Regions from separate parts of the Homo sapiens genome. Here regions 2, 3 and 4 are each linked to region 1. Evidence: promoter capture Hi-C in human tissues and cell types (Jung and others, 2019). All regions are on one chromosome and are shown on one strand. The core of a region is centred on a gene start or on the middle of the fragment in contact, and the rest is flanking DNA. Distances in the headings are between cores, read along the strand shown. Region 1 holds the start of TERF2IP (TERF2 interacting protein). Region 2 has its middle 7.9 kb from the start of PSMD7. Region 3 has its middle 22 kb from the start of MIR4719. Region 4 has its middle 30 kb from the start of LINC02125.

Region 1 (3,019 bases), core at 170-2,669:
AAAGTAAATTAAAACTAGACCAAGAAGCTGGGTGTGATGGCTCACGCCTGTAATCCCAACACTTTGGGACACCGAGACGGGAGGATCGCTTGAGCCCAAGAGTTCGAGACCTGTCAGGGCAACACAACGAGACCCCCATCTCTACAACAATTTTTTTTTTAATTTAGCGGGACGTGGTGGCGCGGGAGTGTAGTTCCAGCTACTTGGGAGGCTGAAGCCGGAGATTCGCTTGAGCCCAGGAGGTCCAGGATGCAGTAGGTCGTGATCGCGCGGCTGCATCACAGCCTGGGCGACGGAGCGAGCCCCCACTCAAAAATTAAAAAATAAAAACGACGAGAGGCCAGACGTGGTGGCTCACTCCTGTAATCCCAACACTTTGGGTGGCCGAGGCAGGAGGATCGCTTGAGCTCAGGAGTTCAGACCAGCTTAGGTAACAGAGACCCATCGCAAAAAAAGAACAATAATAAACAACAAGGGAGCGAGAAGGCAAGAAAATGGTGCAAATTTACCCGGATGTCAACAGGGGGCGGGGCCAAGCGCTGCTACCGAAGATGCCAAGATGGACGCCAGGCAGCCAGGAGAAAGATCCCAACCCCACCCGCGCAGATATCCGCGAGGCCCCGCGCTCAGCCTCCTCACCCCCGCTATCCGCGGCCTCCGGGTCCTCCTCCGCCTTCCGCTTGAGCTTCTGGGAGGAGGGGCTCACCGGCGCGTCCCCCAGCAGGTACTTATGCTCCTGGCCCCGCAGGTGCTTGAGGTAGCGGTCCTTCAGGGACTGCCACGAGTGCTGCGTGAGCGAGCTCTTCTCCATCGCTTTCCACAAGGCGTTACCGGTGACGGAGCTGGGCGAGCGGGCATTTTCCTTCACGTAGGTAAGGATGGCTACGTCGTCCGCATCCGTGAAGGCGATCCGCCCGGCGTGCCGCTGCGGCTCCGGCTCCGCGGCGCCCTCGGCCAGGGCCCCGGGCTTTGCTTCCGAGCCGGTGTCCGCCGCCGAGGCGGGGCCCAGCCGATAGGCCTCCAGCTCCAGCCTCTCGTTGCGCTCCACGCAGTCCAGGATGTACTGCGTGGAGATGAAATCACCCGAGGCCTCGGCCAGCGCCTCCCCGGGCTGGGCCAGCAGCACGGCCCCGGGCTCCTGCACTCGGCACACGGTGCCGCCGCCGTGCAGGATGAGCGTCGACAGCCGACGCTTGGCCGGGCTGGGCCGCACGTAGAAGGACATGGAGCTGCCGTCGTCCCTCACGAACAGAGTCGAGGAATGGGTGGGCCCGTTGGGGTCTTTGCCCAAATCCATCGCCTCCGCCATGTCTGACGCCGAGCACTACTAGAAGAGCTACCCCCTCGCGAGCGCCTGGCACACAGAGCTCAACTGACTGAGCTGTCACCGCAGACGCCTCTGCCGCGAAGCGCAGCACTGGGCCTGCGCAGCAGCAGCCGCGGCGCATCGAGAGTGCCCGCCCCCTCTCCCCCGGAAGAGGTGGGGCTTCGCACCTTGACCTGGAAATTAACGTACTATCCTCCTTACTTTTGGGTCGGGCCCTCCGGGAAGATGGCGGCCGTGCAGGCGGCCGAGGTGAAAGTGGATGGCAGCGAGCCGAAACTGAGCAAGAAGTGAGTGTCGCTGCGAGTCTTTAAAGCCTTTGCGGTAGGAGAGTCTGGGCTGGGAAGCGCCGCGAGGTTCCCACCAAGGCTGCTGTGCCGGGGCCTTCTTGCCGGCTCTCGTGGGTACGCACATGCTGAGACGTGGTGGCTGCGCCCTGCAGACCACGTACCCCGGGATACCCCGGGCACGCCGGCTCCCCGTTCCCAGCTGGCACCGGCGGGATGCTCCCTATCATACTCCTAGAGTTAAGAGACTGTGGAGGAGGAACTAGGACGAGAACTAAGAGTTATCAGAAAAGAAAAGCGAAACTTCCTGCTTAGCTTCATCCTCCTTTCTGAGAAATGCATTCTTTTGTTGAGCCACTCAGTAAACGTGGAAGTTGGAGAAATGTTAAATACCCTAGCTTTTCAGAAAGACCTTCAAAATTTTCTGGGCCTCACTAAGGTCATTCTGAACGTTATGTATTAAAAGGGATCAGTTCTAAAACTGTCATGCATCTACCCGTATGGGTTATTCAGTAGATACCTGTGAGTATTAAGTGATCAACGTCTAACAGTAGAGACCATCTTAATTCAGCCTGATATCTTTGTTAACCACTCCCAAATCCCTGGAGTATGTAGGTTAACATAGATAAGTCAGGATTAGCCACCCTTTAACTGGCTGTCTTATATTCTCATTAGCGTTCCCCATTTGAACCACAGAACACAGGTAATTGAGTGTTTTATCATTGCTAGGAAGATGGTACATAGTACCATTCCAGAGGCATACGAGAGGGCTTAATCCCCGTGGCGCGCACTTGTTATCCCAGCTACTCGGGAGACTGAGGCAGGAGAATCGCTTTAACCCAGGAGGCGGAGGTTGCAGTGTGCTGAAGTCGTGCCACTGCACTCCAGCCTGGGAGACTTGAGGTAGTGGTCCTTCAGGGACTGCCAGAAGTGCTGCGTGAGCGAGCCCTTCTCCATCGCTTTCCCCAAGGAGTTACTGAGACGGAGCCAGACCCTGAATGAAAAAGAAAAGAGAAATGATGTTTCTTTTTTTTTTTTTTTAAGATGGAGTCTCGCTCTGTCGCCAGGCTGGAGTGCAGTGGCGCGATCTCAGCTCACTGCAACCTTCGCTGCCAGGGTTCAAGCGATTCTCCTGCCTCAGCCTCCCGAGTAGCTGGGATTACAGGCGTGTGCCACCATGGCTGGCCAATTTTTGTATTTTTAGTAGAGACAGGGTTTCACCATGTTGGGCAGGATGGTCTCAATCTCGTTACCTTGTGATCCGCCCACCTTGGCCTCCCAAAGTGCTGGGATGACAGGCGTGAGCCTGAGCCACCACCCCTGGCCTGATGTTTCCTTTTGTGTCCCTGGCTTTGTGCTTCAAATATCTTAGAAAAAGTATAAGAGAAATTGTCGAAGTTTATAGTTG
Region 2 (3,019 bases), core at 1-2,500, 1.4 Mb after region 1:
AGCCTAGGAGTATGAGGTTACAGTGAGCTATGATTGTGCCACTGCACTCCAGCCTGGGGGAGAGAGTGAGACTGTCTCTTAAATAAATGAAAATGAAAACTCCTGCTGTTTCATAATTTTCTTTTTTAATTTTTGAAAATATACTTACCAAAAAGATCTAAAAGCATGCTTTCTGTTCCTAAGAGTAATGTCCACTCATTGTTAGAACTTCACGTAGTACAGAAATATAAAACTTATAAAGTAAAAATCTCCCATAATCCCACCACCCACATATAATCACCCCTAACAGTTCGGCATGTGTTCTTCTAGATGAAATGTTTGTTTGAAAGTTCTGAAGAACCTGATTTCAGAGTGTAGTAGCGGCCATTGTGCCTCTTTGTTTTGGGGTTACTCGACTTGATAACACTTCTCATTTTTAATTTTAATCACCTAATCTCATAACTAATTGTAGGCATAATTAGTTACACATTTTGTGGTTGAGTCCCACAATTGCTCAGGAGCCTTCAGCTGTGCATCTTTGAAGACTGACCAGGAGACTTTTGCTCTGAGTCTTGGCCTTCTTCCAGTGTAATCAGGGAGCTTTTGATATTCTTTCTGTGTCTTGTCAATCCCTTTCATTACATGTACTTTTCTTACTTTTGGGAACATTGCTTTGGGTTTTCTTCATTTCTTTTAATATTTTTGATTTGACTATCAGATGACTGCTCTTGCATTCTAAGATAGCAGAACTTTTAGGTTAAGAAGATTTAAGTCAGCTCTCATTGTGTGATGTGTTAAATAAAGCATGCTTGCTGGTGTTTAGTGTCTGATTCAAAGTAGACGTTGTTTCATCTCTTACGTGATGCAATTCAGCATGGGGTAGACGTCTCTATTATGAAAAAAGCGTGAAGGAGTTTCCCTTCTAATTTGTAATTAAGGATTTAGTGGCTATCAGATGATCAAAGATTGGTTTTGATTTTTCTTATGTGTCAAATAAGGTTTAAGAATTGGAGTCTGATGGAAATATCATTTTGACTAAAATGCATAGAGTATAAAGAAGACCACTGGAAATCATAAAGGAGGCATTTTCTACATTGCCACTCCCCTTTTAAAAATATAACTGACTTATAAAATCATCTCTGATATTGTAGCCACTAATGGGGGCTGAATTTATTCAGAGGAATGCAGAAGGGAGGTGTAAGAAATCCATTTTCTTTTGTTCATTGAATTTTGGACTTAACTTTGAGAGAACCTGAAGAGAGTTTGATGATAATACATTTTCCTCTCCTTTGATCATTTTTATCTTTCAGTTTAGGGAGTTAGCCCCCACAGACTACAGCATCTTAAAAGAGTTGTTATTTTTGCTAAGTCCAGAACAAGGAATAACGGTCTTACAAGCATTTCAGCAATACTTTGAACTTTGCAGCCTCTATTTATCATCTTAAGAGATTTTGAAGAAAAAAGAATACATAGCAGAGATGCCACCTTTAGCCTAGGCTGTATGTGTTGTTGAGTTCAGACATCCTTGGGAATGTCTGGCAAACTAAGGTAGGCCCACTAGATCTCTAATTGTATGAGTCGCTGAGAGACCTGCAATGGCACTCATCTTAAGAGTCAGATACACTGGTTTGGCCCAGAAACGCACCCTCAGTTTTTGGAGAGAAAGTAGTGATTCGTGGGATAGTATGAATCTGCCACTCAGAGTTGGCTCTCAGTTCAGCCCCTTATATCTGAGTCCAGAAAGCCATGTTGGTAAGCTTTATGAGAAAACTGAAAGAGCTCTTTCATAAAAGCTCTGTGAAACATTTGGGCACAAGTAGTAGCACTGCTCATGTTATTTCTCTAACAGAGCGTAATCCAAAATGTGGGGAGTGGCTGGGCGCGGTGGCTCACGCCTATAACCCTAGCACACTGGGAGGCCAAGGTGGATGGATCACCTGACATCAGGAGTTTGAGACCAGCCTGGCCGACATGGTGAAATCCTGTCTCTACTAAAAATACAAAAATTAGCTGGTCATGGTGGCACAGTTGATAGCTCAATGAAGGCTGTGGAATGGGGGCTTTCAGGTTTGGTTGCCTGAGCCACCAGTCGTTCTGCTATGACATGGACAGGACCACAGGTGGCAGGAGGAGGAGGCCATAATGGTCGGGGAGACTTCTGCTCTGTGTTGAATTCCATAGCGTAGGATGCCTGAGTCGGCCCGAACTGGAGTCACAGGTATACCTCAGAGGCACTGAGGTGGGACCGGTTGTCCTGAGAGCACCCCTGGAACAGCCTAGCCCAGGAAAGGGTCCCAAGTGCACCAGCCATGAACAGACTTTGGAGGCCAACAAGGCCCCCAGTGACCAGGCCATAGGAGACATTGCATCAGAGACCATCAGACATTGGCCATGGCATGCCCAAGGACCAGTGTGGGGATAGGCCTGTTTCCTTCATGGCCACTGAGTCACGTAAACCCCATCCCTCTCTCCCCATGTGCCTGTACTCCTTAGGGAGAAAAGAGAGGGAAAGGAGGATGCCACTAAGAGATGGAAACTTCTCTTTTATTTTTTTTGAGATGGAGTTTCACTGTTGTTGCTTAGGCTGGAGTGCAATGGTGGGATCTCAGCTCACCACAACCTCCACCTCCCAGGTTCAGGCGATTCTCCTGTCTCAGCCTCCTGAGTAGCTGAGATTACAGGCATGTGCCACCACGCCTAGCTAATTTTGTATTTTTTTTTTTTTTTTTTTTTTTTGAGACGGAGTCTCGCTCTGTCGCCCAGGCTGGAGTGCAGTGGCGTGATCTTGGTTCACTGCAACCTCAGCCTCCCAGGTTCAAGTGATTTTCCTGCCTCAGCCTCCTGAGTGGCTGGGACTACAGGAGTGTGCCACCATGCTCAGCTAATTTTTGTATTTTTAGTAGAGACGGGGTTTTGCCATGTTGGCCAGCCTGGTCTTGAACTCCTGACCTCAAGTGATCCTCCTGCCTCGGCCTCCCAAAGTGCTGGGATTACAGGCGTGAGCCACCACGCCTGGCTGAGATGGAAACATTTCTAAAGA
Region 3 (3,019 bases), core at 149-2,648, 1.2 Mb before region 1:
TCCTTTATCATCTGCCTCCTAAATGGAGTCTTTGATGCTCAATAAAACAATCTTATTGAATTTTGCTTTGCATCTTTTATGTATAAAAGTAAATTTGTTTGAAAAATATGACAATAGTGATTTTAAAAAATATTTGATACCTTCTTACAAATACATCTCAAATGATTGGAGCTGGGTCTTTTATATGTCTCAGTGTGCCATCTAAGTATCAACATTGTATGTGGATGTAAAGTATCAACATAGCATAGCTTTCTGGTAAAAAGAGAAAAATTCCCAACTGAACACCATCCAACTATACCGTTACCAACAAGTCATCCAAAAACAGGCCCAAATCCTTGTATCTATCACTGATTACATGAATCTGTTCTTATAGTATTACAACAGAAAGTCTGGTCAAGAATAGAAGAAATGACACATAAACAAGAAAATAAACATTGATAAGGTTTTGGTTAGAGGAAGCAAAATACCAATATACAAGATGAAATTATCCTTACAGGCACAGATATTTTCACATCATTCTGTCAGAAAAATAAGAGCACATGCTTCAGCTAAGTCTTTGGAGGATCCAGAGAGAAATATTGATGCAAAGAACAAACCACGTATACATAATACTCCTTCAAAACTGATGCAGATGACGTTTAAACACCAATGGGTAAAAATGTCATGTCATTCATATGAAGCTCTTATATTGTTTGCATTGTACTTTTTTGTGAGCCTTGTCATGTTCTCAAATAAGGTAGCCTTTTCAGGAAGACCAGATATATCTTGCATAGCAACAAGAGCTAATGTTGCCAAACTCACTTGAAAGTTGATGTGCAAGTGAAGAACAGGTGTGCCGGTTCCTTTACTCCAAAAATAAAGACAAATAATGCTTCTAGCTTGTCAGCATTTCAAGCTGACTAGAAGAATTGTTTCATTCTTCATATATAAAGAGACATGTAATTGATAGTTACATACACATATGGTTATAGTCACATATATATGATACTGTTTAATATTTATGATGTTGCTTTATATACATGATATACATATATAATATATATGATATATGTGATGAGAAGACAGTTACTTAAGGAAACACTCAGATGGTATTGTATTGCTTATAATACAATGGATAAATGCTTCAGGTAATGGATATCCCATTTACCCTGATATGATTATTACACGTTGCATGCCTGTATCAAAATATCTAATGTAATCCATAAATATATACACCTACTATGTACCCACAAAAATTAGAAAGAAAACACTTAGAAAATTATGTTCAGGTTATTTTTAATGATGGATTCTTTTCTTCTTCCCACTGATCATACTTAAAAATTAGAGCAATTAGGTTAGAAGGATAGCAAAACTAAGAAACTATGGAAAATATTAACTGGAAAGAAAACTAAAGACAAAACTAGACACAGATTTTTAAGTGTGTTTTACATCTTGAACAAGTTCTAATCTTTTAATTTACAAACGAAAGTGACTCAGGACAACTTACAGCAATAGAGTTTAAATTTAACATTTAATATTTGTGGATACTCATATGTGTAGCATCTGTTGTGTTTGTGGTCTGCATGTGTCTTAATTTTGTGTTATGAATATGTGTGAGTGTATGTTTCATGTGATGTGTGTGAGTATGAGAGTGTGCATTAAATTTTTTTTTAAATTTTTTTCCAGGAATGTCTCCTGAGCATGCACTGATGTTTTATGAGATGGGTGTCATTATGTACAGTGATTCTAAGGGGTCACCTACCATCCTGCTATATGAACCAAATGGGCTTCACTGGGAAGGTAGTGCCACAGCCATGATCCCCTTACCATGGAGGGGGCCCCATGGAGGACTGAAATTCTCTTTTCCCATAAGATCTTTAGAATAACTATAGGGCTTTGAGTTTGGAACCAAGTGAATAAAATTAAACAGCTTCTTACAGATGACTTGAGAAATGAATCTCCACTTTGTTTCCTTAGCTTTGCACAGCTGTTATGGAAGAAGGTATTTCTTAGGAAGAAAGTGGCCGTTCATTACAAAACAACCTATCTAGACAGCTCTGGGTACCTGGAAAAACAGTCTCAATGGAAGCAAGTTTCCTAGTTTTAGTGACTTTTTCTGCTGGTGGCTACATTCACCAAAAGTGAATGTAATATTTTCTCTTGTTTAACTTTGGCTACAGGACACTAAGGAGTTCCTTTTTATCAACACTGAGATTAACTGTCTCTCCAGGAAGAGAGAAACCAAGTTACTCATGATTTGGTCATGTCAACTTTTTTGACTTTCTGGCCAGGTTCTGCGCATGTTAAATTTTCAGTCTCAGACTGGGACCAGCAGATTTTCTCCCCCAGGCCCCTAGGGCTGTGCTTGATAATGACTCTGCAATTTGTCTCATGCTTCCCAGAGATAGGAGCATTTTTCCCCCCACTGTTCCATGCTATTTACAAAGCACAGGTATTATGATTTATTTCCTTCTTCAATATTTATCAATATTAATGAGTATCGTGTGCAGTTATTGGATGAGGCACTTACTTAAGTGGAAAGAGATTAAAAGTGGTGCTGTTATTTGGTATCAAGGTGGTTTAGGCCTTGAGGAGAAAGCTACCTGCTTCGATTAGCCTAATGAGACAACTTAATGAGAAAGTGATCTGCTTCAGCTATATTCTTATCAATACAAACAAATGGCATAGTTAGGGTATTTAGCTATATTCTTATCAATACAAAGAAATGGGATGGTTGAGACATTTGTACGTAGCCATTTTCAGTATACATATATATTTATTTTGCTTTAAGTTCTGAGATACATGTGCTGAATGTGCAGGTTTGTTACATGGGTATACATATGCCATGGTGGTTTGCTGCACCTGTCAACCCGTCATCTGTGTTTTAAGCTCTGCATCCATTAGGCATTTGTCCTCATGCTCTGCCTCCCCTGGCCCACCCCCCCAACCCCCGACAGTCCCTGGGTGTGTGATGTTCCCCTCTCTGTGTCTATGTGTTCTCATTGTTCAGCTCCCACTTATGAGTGAGAACCGGCAGTGT
Region 4 (3,019 bases), core at 372-2,871, 1.0 Mb before region 1:
CACTTCATAGTGACCCAGGGATACAGGCTGACGGGACAACCATCATTGAAAACATTCGCAAAGGGGAAAAGATCTCTGGAGGATCTCAAACTAGCCATTAAATGCTCTGACCAAAGAGTCACTGGTCACTTCTGCTTACAGGTCATCATAAGTCACAGGACTTCAATAAACTGCGAGCTTCAGGAAATGCAATCATTTTGGTGCCTTGAAAGCAAAAAGCCAGGAATATTTTGTGAACAGTATTAGTGATTATCACAAAAACAGTCACCAGGATTTCAGAAATGATGATTAAAATGGAAAACATTTTTTCTATAAAAGCAAAGCGTATTGGGCAAAAATGTATGCAGATGTCCATGGCATGAGAAAAATGCTATACAAAATATGCCGAAAATAGAGTGCAACCTAAGTGACACAATATGGGGGAACAAATATATTTCTATTTCAATTTCAATGTATTATTTCTGCTAGTCCCTCTGCTGGACAGATCACACTATAACCATACCTTAAATCATTTAGCAACATTTTCTTTCAAGTGTTAAGATTAATTATAACATTTTCCTTTCATGTAACTGAAGTGCCTGCTACCTCAAGTTTGCTATGCCTGACACACAGAGAATTAGCAAATAATATACTTAAAAGGATTTTAGAGTCATTTAGCGGTATAACTCTAAACATAATTGATTTTATTAACTGAGCTGCAGACTGCAGAAGGCAAAAATCAGCAGAATTACAAGTCACTACCAGCTGGTAATGCTGGGGTTAAAAATTAGGCAGTGTAGCAGCATCAATGCTTCTGGTTATACATTCACTTCCTTTGCACGCTACACTCAAAAGCAATGATTAATTACAAAATGTAATTTTAAAAACCACTCTCCTTTATAATAGCAAAAGAAACATACTGTGAGGTAACTAGAAACAAAAGTTTAAACTGTTACCTACATTTTAATGGAGCATGGTATTAATATGACACAGTCAAAGAGACAAGATGAGAGAATATTGAGCACAGACACACACTCAGGTGTGCCTGGAAACCTGGCTTGTGAAAAAGGGAGGCATTACAAATCACTGAGAAATGATGGCTTTTTACTAAATGCTAATGGGAAAATTGAACATCCATAGGAAAAATATATCCCATGCTCACATCACATACCAAAGTCAAGCTCAAATATACTAAACATCCCAATGAGTAAAGCTTATCTAAAATGTCTAGAAAATATATAGGTAATTATTCTTGGGATATCAGGGTAAAGAAGACTTTCTTAAAGCTGCACAATCATACATGAAATACTGCTACATCTATGCAATAAAATAAATCATAAACAGATTCAAAACACAAGACACAGGCAAGGAGTATCTTTATAGCTTATTCAGGCAGCCAGTATAAAGAAATCCTAAAACTCAATAAGGCACAAAATATGTATGAGCAGTCACCTGAAAAGCAATAAACACGTGGAAAGAAAATGTTCAAGCTCACTGGTAATCAGGAAAAATGCAAATTAAAGTCAATATTTCAGTCTCACACAGGAGAAACAGTAGTATATTTTGAGGAAATTGATCTTAAGAAGGGACCAACATATTGTGTTGTTAATGACTAATATGACAAGAGAGATAAATACATATTCTGCTTTGATATTATTTGCAGGATCTTTTTTTGGGGCTTCCTTCACAACATCAATTTTTACTATAAAGAGTTCAGGGACAGACAGCAAAGGGGATATAATCAAAGCATGCCAAAAAATAATGTGTGCTGCAGTCTTAAAGGAATTTAGAGGCTTGTAGCATCATTGAGTTGACAGCCCAGCAGAAAGCACACACCTACACAAGAAATGTAGCCTGAAGTAAAGACACTCTTGGCATATAATTTATCAGGGTGCTAATATGATAAACAACAACAAGAAACATGCCAAGAAGATACTTTTGGAGGTTATTAAAATGCAGAATGGAGAAGACAAAATGCTAAATATCCCCATTTGAAGTCAGGTGTTTAGTTACATATTGCAGCACAACCTCCCACTCCCAATGTATTGGCTTACACAATCATTTAGTGTTATTAGTCATAGTAACAAGAGTTGGCTGGGCTTAGCTAGGTAGTTTGCACCTGAGGTCTCTTATACCGTTGCCATTAGATGGTGGCTGGAGCTCGAGACTCACTTGTCAGGTACCTCCACTGGGATGGCTGGAACAGCTACAGGGTGATCAGGAATCTTCTCTCCCAGGCAGGCTTTCCATGAGGCTAGACTGTATTTCTTCATAGCATGATGGTCTCATGGTTATCAGACTTCTTACATGACCCAGTTTTCCCCCAAACAAGACTAAGGAAGACATAGGAAGCTGCCACCTTCCTATGATTTGCTTCCAAAATCCCGGAAGATCAATTCCGTTGCATTCTACTAATCAAGCCAGTCGTTAAGAGCAGCCCAGATTCAAGAGGTCTGGAAGTGGATTAGACTTCATCTCGTGATGGAAGCAGCTACGTGGAGGTGCACGGAAGGAGTAACAGGTGCCTATCTTTGGGTATTATCCACCACACAAGATAATTTCAACATTTCTTCACTCCTTACAGTGTGTTACCAAAATGATTATGAAAGATGTCTTCACGTATTAACATTATATGTGAATGGATCAAGCTTGTATCCCTAGGCACAGCATGGACACAGGCCAGAACCAACTTTAGTCTTCATCATGAGTGCCGGCATGAGAAAGAGGCTGTGCTATCTCCATGTTCCTAAAATAACATCCTATAGCAGATCTCATCACCTGGCTGTTTCTGGGAACTACTGGAATCACTGATGCCAATCAAACCAGACCTATGGACTCAGATCAATTGCGTGGAATCAGATTGATTAAATGATCTTCTAAAAATACCACATGCCTGAAGAAGCTTTATCCTTAGTATTATTCCACTCACGTAGTACTTACTTTCCTTAAAGTCAGATAAAATTGGTTTATTTTACAGAAAAGCAATTAATAGGCCAGAATGTGTATTTCATTCTGATACTTAATATTATTTCTTTCTTTT

The links. Contacts are between HindIII fragments. The study calls those that stand out against the background at their distance.
Region 2: a contact is called between a fragment that was not itself captured here and the fragment with the promoter of TERF2IP in region 1, in 1 of the 25 tissues and cell types used here (lymphoblastoid cells).
Region 3: a fragment that was not itself captured here is called in contact with the fragment with the promoter of TERF2IP in region 1 in 1 of the 25 tissues and cell types used here (lymphoblastoid cells).
Region 4: a contact is called between a fragment that was not itself captured here and the fragment with the promoter of TERF2IP in region 1, in 1 of the 25 tissues and cell types used here (dorsolateral prefrontal cortex).

The regions. Positions count from the first base shown.
Region 1 is chr16:75,646,173-75,649,191 of GRCh38, reverse strand. TERF2IP (TERF2 interacting protein) reads right to left here and starts at 1,419. Exons shown (of 3, transcript NM_018975.4): 1 at 640-1,419. The coding sequence starts at 1,309. It overlaps KARS1 (lysyl-tRNA synthetase 1), which reads left to right and starts at 1,527. Exons shown (of 14, transcript NM_005548.3): 1 at 1,527-1,614. The coding sequence starts at 1,553. RefSeq lists enhancers at 1-497, 295-564, 498-1,455, 1,495-1,674 and a silencer at 875-994. The HindIII fragment of the contact is 7,104 bases long and covers 1-3,019 here.
Region 2 is chr16:74,287,389-74,290,407 of GRCh38, reverse strand. No RefSeq gene overlaps it. Among named protein-coding and RNA genes, the nearest start is that of PSMD7, 7.9 kb to the left of the region's middle. The HindIII fragment of the contact is 4,708 bases long and covers 1-3,019 here.
Region 3 is chr16:76,889,065-76,892,083 of GRCh38, reverse strand. It overlaps the pseudogene LOC100128497. Among named protein-coding and RNA genes, the nearest start is that of MIR4719, 22 kb to the right of the region's middle. The HindIII fragment of the contact is 4,659 bases long and covers 1-3,019 here.
Region 4 is chr16:76,663,534-76,666,552 of GRCh38, reverse strand. No RefSeq gene overlaps it. Among named protein-coding and RNA genes, the nearest start is that of LINC02125, 30 kb to the right of the region's middle. The HindIII fragment of the contact is 3,222 bases long and covers 11-3,019 here.